Regions from separate parts of the Homo sapiens genome. Here region 1 is linked to region 2. The links are contacts of gene promoters, found by promoter capture Hi-C in blood cells and fetal thymus (Javierre and others, 2016). All regions are on one chromosome and are shown on one strand. The core of a region is centred on a gene start or on the middle of the fragment in contact, and the rest is flanking DNA. Distances in the headings are between cores, read along the strand shown.

Region 1 (3,723 bases), core at 969-3,468, 5.9 Mb before region 2:
TATGTTCAAACCTAGACTCCTCAAGTACTTTAAGTCTCTTAAAGCAAATGTTGGCGGGGCGTGGTGGCTCACACCTGTAATCCCAGCACTTTGGGAGGCCAAGGCAGGCAGATCACCTAAGGTCAGGAGTTCAAGACCAGCCTGGCGAACATGATGAAACCCCGTCTCTTCTAAAAATACAAGAAATTAGTTGGGCATGGCGGCAGGCACCTGTAATCCCAGCTACTCGGGAGGCTGGGACAGGACAATCGCTTGAACCGGGGAGGTAGAGGTTGCAGTGAGCTAAGATCCAGCCACTGCACTCCAGCCTGGGCAACAGGAGCAAAACTCCATCTCAAAAAAAAAAAAAAAAAAGTGTCAGCCAGGTGCAGTGGCTCATGCCTGTAATCCCAGCACTTTGGGCAGGTGGATCGTCTGAGCTCAGGAGTTCAAGACCAGCCTGGGAAATGTGGTGAAACCCAGACCCTCTGTAAAAAAAAAAAAAAAAAAAAAAAGTGAGTGTCATGATGTTTTTGCTTCTCTGCAAAGTGTCATGATGTTTTTGCTTCTCTGCATTCTCTGTAGGCATTATACCCAAGTGTCTTGCACATAAAAGCTGCTGAACAAATATATGTTGCTTATGATAAAGCAATTATTTTCCTTCTGGTACCAACCAATGTCACCCTGAATTATAAATTAAACGTGTCTATACACCTCCCTATTTCCAGGTAAAGTTCACAGCCTTAGACTGAGTCAGGAGCTACAATCCAGTTCTGACTGATGTATTTGTATGACCCTAGGAAAGGTGCCTACTCTCTATGGCCTTCAGTTTCCTTTACTGTAAAAGAAGGGCATTATTTCCTCTGGTGTTCATAGCTCTAAAATTTTTAGATTGTATCAAACAGAAAGGAAGACATACTCAACGAAAACATAAATCAAAGATATTTAGGATTTTATAAAAATCACAATAAAAGTTGTAATACTGCATTTTGCATTGCATCACATTATTATTATTATTATTATTTGAGGTGGAGTTTCTTCGCTCTTGTTGCCCAGGCTGGAGTGCAATGGCGCACAATCTTCGCTCACCGCAACCTCCGCCTCCTCAGCCTCCCGAGTAGCTGGGATTACAGGCATGCGCCACCACGCTCGGCTAACTTAGTAGAGACGGGGTTTCTCCATGTTGGTCAGGCTGGTCTCCAACTCCCGACCTCAGGTGATCCTCCCGCCTCGGCCTCCCAAAGTGCTGGGATTACAGCCGTGAGCAACCACGCCCAGCCCTGCATCACATTATTACAATCCTATTATCTTTTTGGATCTCTATATAGTTTTATTAACTTTACCGTATTTACTTCCATGTGGCCCTCTGGGAAAGAGTAAATGAATGATATATCTTATTTTATCCTCATTTTGTAAAGGTTCTTGGGCTGGTAAAATGCAAGATCACTGAATAAGTCAGAGAAAAAAACACAAAAACAATGTCCAGTGTCCAGCTAAATAAACATCACTCCTAAGAAAGCAAACATCTTTTCCACGTTCAGGATGATGCTCATCCCCAGCAGATGGTCAAAAAAAAAAAAACAAAACAAAATACACATACACAAGCTTCATTACACCTAGCTATTAACCATACATGCTTGCTATCAGTTGTTGAGGAAGAAGGCTCCGTGTCTTTCTCCCCCATCCACCCTCTCCCTGCTACTTTACCTGTTTGTACCTGGCATACAGGTACAAGAGCTGCTCCCTGCTGGCCACCTGAATCAGGCCTTGCAGGTGCGCGGCAGCCTTCTCAAACAGCTCGGCCAGGCAACTGGTCTCCTCGATCTCAGGGCTATGGGGGAACTCCACCTCCCCGGAGTCGTCCCCTGAGCTCAGCTCTCCACCGCTGTCGCCGGTGATGGCCCCCGCGGGCAGGAATGATGAAGCCATGTCTCCTTGCTCGCTCCGTCCCTCTGTGTCCGGTCTGTCCTCCTTGGATTGGGTGTAAGGCCGGCTTGGAGGCCTGGCCCACCAGTCTGGGTCGCGAGCCTGAGCTCCAGTCGGACCCAAGCTCAGTCGCGGCGCGCTCCCTCACGTGACCCTGCTCCCTGCCCACTTCTACTCCCTGGGCGTGCAGAGCAGGCTCCTCGACCCTCTGCCGCTCTGCCCAGTCGACCCGGTCTCCTCCGGCTTCCCTCCGGCCAACAGCGCGCTCAGGCTCGCCTCAGGCCCCTCCAACGGAACAGGAGTCGAGGGGCAGTGAGGCCGGGATGCGTGCGAGCGCGGGGCGCGGCTGGCGCTGGGCCGTGGGGGCGGGGCGGCGTGCGTGCCAGCGGCGTGCGATTCTGTGAGGCCTGCTCTGCGCCGGCGGGGAAGCGCGGGCGACGCTACGCTGGACGTCCTTCCCTGCCGGAGGAGAGAAAGTGCCGTCAGCTGTAGGGGCGTCTTTTAATCGTTTCGCTGAAATTAGCAGTCCCGAGCTCCGGAGCCCGCCACCGGGATGGGCCCCCGGGGGTGGGGGAAGGAGGCCGTTTGTGTGGTAGTGTAGCGGTGAGAGCGGAGTCGCGGGAAACGCGAGGCTGAGGACTAAGGTTCCGCCTGCCCCAGATTGTGCGCCCCAAGCGCCTCCAAACAGCCCTGCGCGCGGATCTGTTGCGTGCGCGTTGGGCTCTGTGTTGAATAATGAAAAACTGCGAGATGGGGCTGTCCCGTCTTACTGTGTGACTGATGAGTGGAATCACTGCTCTGCGTGTTTCGCTCTCCACACCTTCGGAGCCCGCACCTCTCCGGGCCCTGAATAATAGGGTTTGGGGAGTTCGGGGCGCGCCTTAGCCCAGTTCTCATCCCGAGCTCTGTCTTTGACACTGTGCTTTGTAGACACTGTACAGTGAAACCAGAAGTACGGCACAGTTCGGCCCTAGAGGAATGCACAAAACTATTTTTTTAACTGTAACATTATGAGTGGTTATGTCCTAAATGTTAAACACAACGACGCACTATATATTCATTTAGTATTCAAAACAATGTAATAAGCACTATAAGAAGGGTACAAAGAAAGTGTTGTAAACAGTGGTTATTGACTGGGGTTAGGCTTGCGACGGGTGGACGGACGGCTGGACAGGATGAGGAAGCAATGAGAGAACACAGGAAGGTGAGAAAGCTTGCATCAGGATTCAACAGACATTCCTTAAGTCTCCAGAAAGTTCCACTGTTAGTCCCTGCTGTCAAGGTGCTCGCAATCCAGTCAAAGGGATGTTTAATGACCAAATTCTTGCAATTAAAAAGTGATTAAGAATAATGTATTGAGGACTTGATCATTACAACATAAGGTAGGTACTCTTATTTTACTACACATAGGAAATCAGCACAGAGTGGTTAAGTAACTTGTCAAAGGCTACACAGCTAGCAAATGGAGGAGCAAGGAAAAAGAAGTTAGCTTTCATGTGGGGTAATAATGGATGATGAACCCGACAAGTAGACTGAAGGAGATATAACATGGACTTTTATATCTTTGTTTCTAGAATTTTTATTAAAGTGAGAATTGAATATTATCAACGGCTTTTTTGGCATCTTTGGAGATTATCTGCTTTTCTCCTCTAGTCTTCGAAAGGAATTATATTAACAGTTTCTATTTTAATGAATTATATTAACAAAAATAAATTTGGGATTTAATGAATTATATAATAGCTAACATTGATAAATTAGTATGCATTATTTCAAAACCTCCTAGTTTTGAGCATTACTTCTGTTCTTGGAATAAACCCA
Region 2 (4,312 bases), core at 875-3,374:
ATTTTAATAGCAAAATCAGAATAAGAATCCAGACCTCCTGACCATTAAATTCTGTGTTCTCACAAAATCTTTACCACTAAGTGAAAAATCAAAATATCACCATAATAAAAACCAATGATGCTTAATCAATATTTTCATGTTTAGTAAGCAAATGTTTCCAAAGTATATAAAGGAGTCTCTGAAGATTTCGATACTCCGAGAATACTTACAAAGATGAATTAAATACTTACTGAGTTTCTCTAGCTCAAGCCGCAAGCTTTGACACTCTCGGGTTTCATTCACAAGTCTCTCCTGACTGTGGGACAACCTCTTTTCTATTTCAAAATACTGTTGTTCTACAGCAGACAAGCAAAAAACAAAAAACAAAATCAAACACATGTACATACATTGTGAATACTGTTATTTATTTCTAATAACCTTGATTTTAAAACTTAAGATACAGTATTAGAATTGTGCTCCACATAAGAGAATCTGAGTAAAGATAAATAGACTGAGCACTGAAAAGGACTTAAAGCATTTCCAAACGACTTACATGACAAAAAATAAAAAATAAAAATAAGGCCTAAAAGGGGCTTTACAAATCAATGTCTTCAAGGCAGGTAACCTCATTTATCTTAGTATTTTCTCCAGACATCAGTAAACTGCTTAATAAATAAAGTATTTATTACACGAGAAAAAATTGTTTAGACAAAAAAAAACTCCTTTGTTTTAAAAGACTTCTTTTATAGTAGTCAAGATATTACCTGAAAGCATAAAACTACTAAATATATGTAAAAGTAAATGTGTAAACTTTCCAAGGGAAGGGATTGAATATCATGTTCAGCATAGTATCAGGAACATGTAAGACATTCAATATTTATGGTGCAAATTAATAAATAGAATGCAATGTACTATACTCAGCTCTGGGATCAGAGAACTAATTTTCAAGGTCAATTCTGCTTGACAGTTACACTTTTTTTGAAGTAAAAACTTGTTCAGAATTTCCAGTCAACTTAGCAAGAACAGTATGAACCTCCCCAAACAAATGGTAAACCAAAACACATTAACGGGAAGTTTGTATTTTACTAATGGTAATGACTATATTCTTCATATTTTTTTCAAGGATGTTCAAGCCATTATTGTCAGTAACTTTCTTACTTAAAGGCCTACTTTAGGTAATTACAAGAAAATTTTAATGTTTTCTATCAAACTCCAACTTTTTAAGAGAAATCAAGATATATTAAATTTATGTACTGCACATTCACTGTGTTTCCAGCGCTCTTATGCACCTAATATTCATTTTTGTAAACATCTGATTCGTTCTGGAGCCACGGGACGACGCACACACTAAGAACAAGTGCACAGAGTGGTCAATTTGGCAAAGGCCTAGAATGCAGGTGCCTAGAAAATAGGGCGGAGCCACTATCAGTTGAAGTGCAACAAAACATATAAGGTACTCTAGGCTTAGAGAGATGGGTTCGCAGACTCTATCAAGTCTGTTTCCCGTCTGCCGGACGAAGGAAAATAAGCGTCCCTGTATGAGCCTACCCTAACTACAAAGAAAATGCTACTGAACTTAGATTCAGATTTTTTTTTCAAAGGCTTCTTATCAAACTGTAAGGAGCAGGAAAGCGAAGGCTCAGGATATCCACAGAGCCCAGGAAGTGAGGTTAACAGAGCGGTACCCAGTGCCAACTTGATGGGGGAAGACCAGACCCAAAGGGCGGGAGTCGAGCCCAAAACCAAGGACGGAAAGAGCATCTCACTTACCGCTCTCCACCTTAAATTTCTCATGCCGCCCCTTCAGGCCATCGATCTCGGATTGCTGATCAGCAAGGAACTTTTCAAGTTTGTTCTGGACAGACTTGGGCAGCTTGTTCAGCTCCGTGCGCTCCAGGACTTGCTGCAACACCGCCGCCATGTCGGTGGGGCCAGGGACCCCAGTGGCAGCGGCCGACGGGGTAGAAGCGGAGAAGAAAGGCGAAGACCAGCAGGACCCAGACGCCTGGGCCGCCGCCTCTATCACCTCGCTCGGTGGCTCGCGCGCGCCCGCCCGCCGGAGACTCCCGCGGCGGGACCCTGGGAAATCGAGTCCACCCTCAGCGGCAGCGTTTCAGCAACAGCACCTCACCGCCCGCGACCGAAGTGCGCGCGCAGCCGTTGGAAGCTACGAACCCTGGGAACCCGAGCTCAGAGGCTATCCCTGATCCTCTTGCGCACCCAATTTTCCGGCTTCCAGCTCCACCCACTTCAGGCCTTGTAGGGCTCTGGGAAATGTAGTGTTTTTCTCATTCTTTTCCGGGAGCCCAATGCTGCACCGCCCTCTCAGCTTCCGTTTTTCTCCCCGCTCCCCTGGCTCTCCTATCTCGGCCCCGTAACCGCTGTCCGCACGGTGGCGCCACATACGTACTCGTCACCCCTTGGCCCTCCCTGAAGAGCTGGTGACCTTACCGTCAAAGCCCCGGGATGCCATGGATCGTCCTCGTTGGCGGCTTCTGGACACTGAGCCACTAGAGGGCATCGGTCCCGGTAGGGCCGGACGGCAGGCTCCGGGATACCGCCACGCTCTCTATGGCGCCCAGAAGGGGGCGGGGTGGCGACCGCAGTCGCTTTGGCTGAGGCTCTGCGGGGAAGGGAGGGGGGGCTTTTACGTCATCAATCTGCGCCACCTGACTCCCAAGTCCCTGGCTTTGGAGTGGGAAGTGAGGTGTGGGAAGTAGGTCGCTTTCTGATGAATTCAGTGGCAGTGAATTGAGACCGGAGGGAATCTGGCCCCTAGAGGCTGGTACTTGGGCCCGAAACCCCCATCTCCGGCGGAGAGACCGTCCGAGGTAATTGTCTGCCACGAGTGCACATTCTGAAAACAGGTAAGTCAGCCTAAGTGTAGTGTGTGTGTGTGTGTGTGTGTGTGTGTGCTCTCTTTTCAAGAGAAAAAGGAAGGGACAGTGTTGGAACCATATGGACAGTCACTCCGGCACACACTTCTGACGAACTTACCTTGTGTGAAACGGCGTACCTAAATGGTTTTTGGTGGTGGGGAGGTGGCACTGAGTGATTCAGTACCCGGGAATTTAAGGACCCGGGTTAATTCTTCAGGAGGAGAATTAAAAGAAACCGGTAGCACTTTGAGTGTAGCCTATGTTTTAAATTTTTCGTTGCAGAAACGGTTACCTAACATTATATTGTTTTTAAAATTGAAAACTGTTGTAACTGAAGTTTTTAAACACATTGTTAATTTCTACAGTAACAGAACTTGTATGGTTCCAGATCATAATTCTGTAGTTTTAAAGCTCAATCCGTAGATTGTTTCGTGTTTACTCTTATGAAAGAATTTGTTAAATTATTCATTGTAAATAATGCATTCCCAGTGTCGTCTCTCTGCAGTTCCCACAGTCGTGGGCCTTCTGTGAATTGGTGATTTAGTTCTTATATGAAATTTATTCTTTTTCTCTAGTTCTTACTTTTGAATCATGTTGTGAAGCCGTCTAAGAAATATAAATGGAAGCATTTTATGATATTTTGTAATAACTAAGGAAAAATAAATCAACAGCGGAGCTTAAGGTTGATTTTTCCCCAAAAATATTTTTTAGATAAGCATTGTAATTAAAGTTGCTGGTATATGAAGTATTATGCTATGTCCTAAGCCCACAGTATTATCATACTGTTGATCTGTCATTTGGGAAATGTAGATTTTTCTGTACTTAGATTCACAGAATCCTAAAATTAGATAGGTTTTCAGATCTGCTAGGATTCAAATGCTTTATTTTATAGATTAGGAAACCAGAGCCCAGAAAGGTTGAGTTGTGTCAGTCACAGTGCTTGGACCACAAAGGCTTTGGCTGATATACAACATTTCTGGAAAATTATGACCCTATAAGGCAAAATACAGTTGTCCCTTGGTATCCGTGGGGCATTGGTTCCAGGACCCTCTCACCTGCCCACCCCATGGATATGAAATCCATGGATGCTCCAGTTCCTTATATTAAATGGTGTAGCATTTGCATATCTTAAATCATCTCTAAGTTACTTATAATACCTAATACAATGTAAATGCTATAGTTGTTATATTATATTGTTTAGGGAATAGTGACAAGAAAAAACATCTTTAATGATACAGATGTAATCATGCTTTAAAAAAATAATTTTTCAATCTGTGGTTGGTTGAATACATGGAAGTGGAAACCACAGATGTGGAAAGCTGACTATATACATTTTTAGTACTGCCTTTTATAAAGTATGGTTGACTACATTTAAAAATTTTGAAAGAGCACTAAAGAAAAATTTATCTGACATTCAATCAGATTTCATAATTGAATAGATTTTCATCTCCCTA

Evidence for each region. Contacts are between HindIII fragments. The CHiCAGO score rates a contact against its expected background, and 5 or more counts as called.
Region 1: a contact is called between the fragment with the promoter of ACBD6 here and the fragment with the promoter of TPR in region 2, in 2 of 17 cell types (total CD4 T cells and total CD8 T cells). The highest score is 11.7, in total CD4 T cells.

What each region holds. Positions count from the first base shown.
Region 1 is chr1:180,500,359-180,504,081 of GRCh38, forward strand. ACBD6 (acyl-CoA binding domain containing 6) reads right to left here and starts at 2,219. Exons shown (of 8, transcript NM_032360.4): 1 at 1,687-2,219. The coding sequence starts at 1,908. RefSeq lists enhancers at 626-1,141, 1,142-1,657, 1,765-2,265, 1,787-1,976 and a silencer at 2,187-2,286. The HindIII fragment of the contact is 1,534 bases long and covers 1,583-3,116 here.
Region 2 is chr1:186,373,129-186,377,440 of GRCh38, forward strand. It overlaps TPR (translocated promoter region, nuclear basket protein), which reads right to left and starts at 2,125. Exons shown (of 51, transcript NM_003292.3): 1 at 1,750-2,125; 2 at 231-335. The coding sequence starts at 1,900. ODR4 (odr-4 GPCR localization factor homolog) reads left to right here and starts at 2,710. Exons shown (of 14, transcript NM_017847.6): 1 at 2,710-2,846. RefSeq lists a silencer at 1,260-1,309 and enhancers at 1,870-2,169, 2,330-2,379, 2,550-2,739. The HindIII fragment of the contact is 6,872 bases long and covers 255-4,312 here.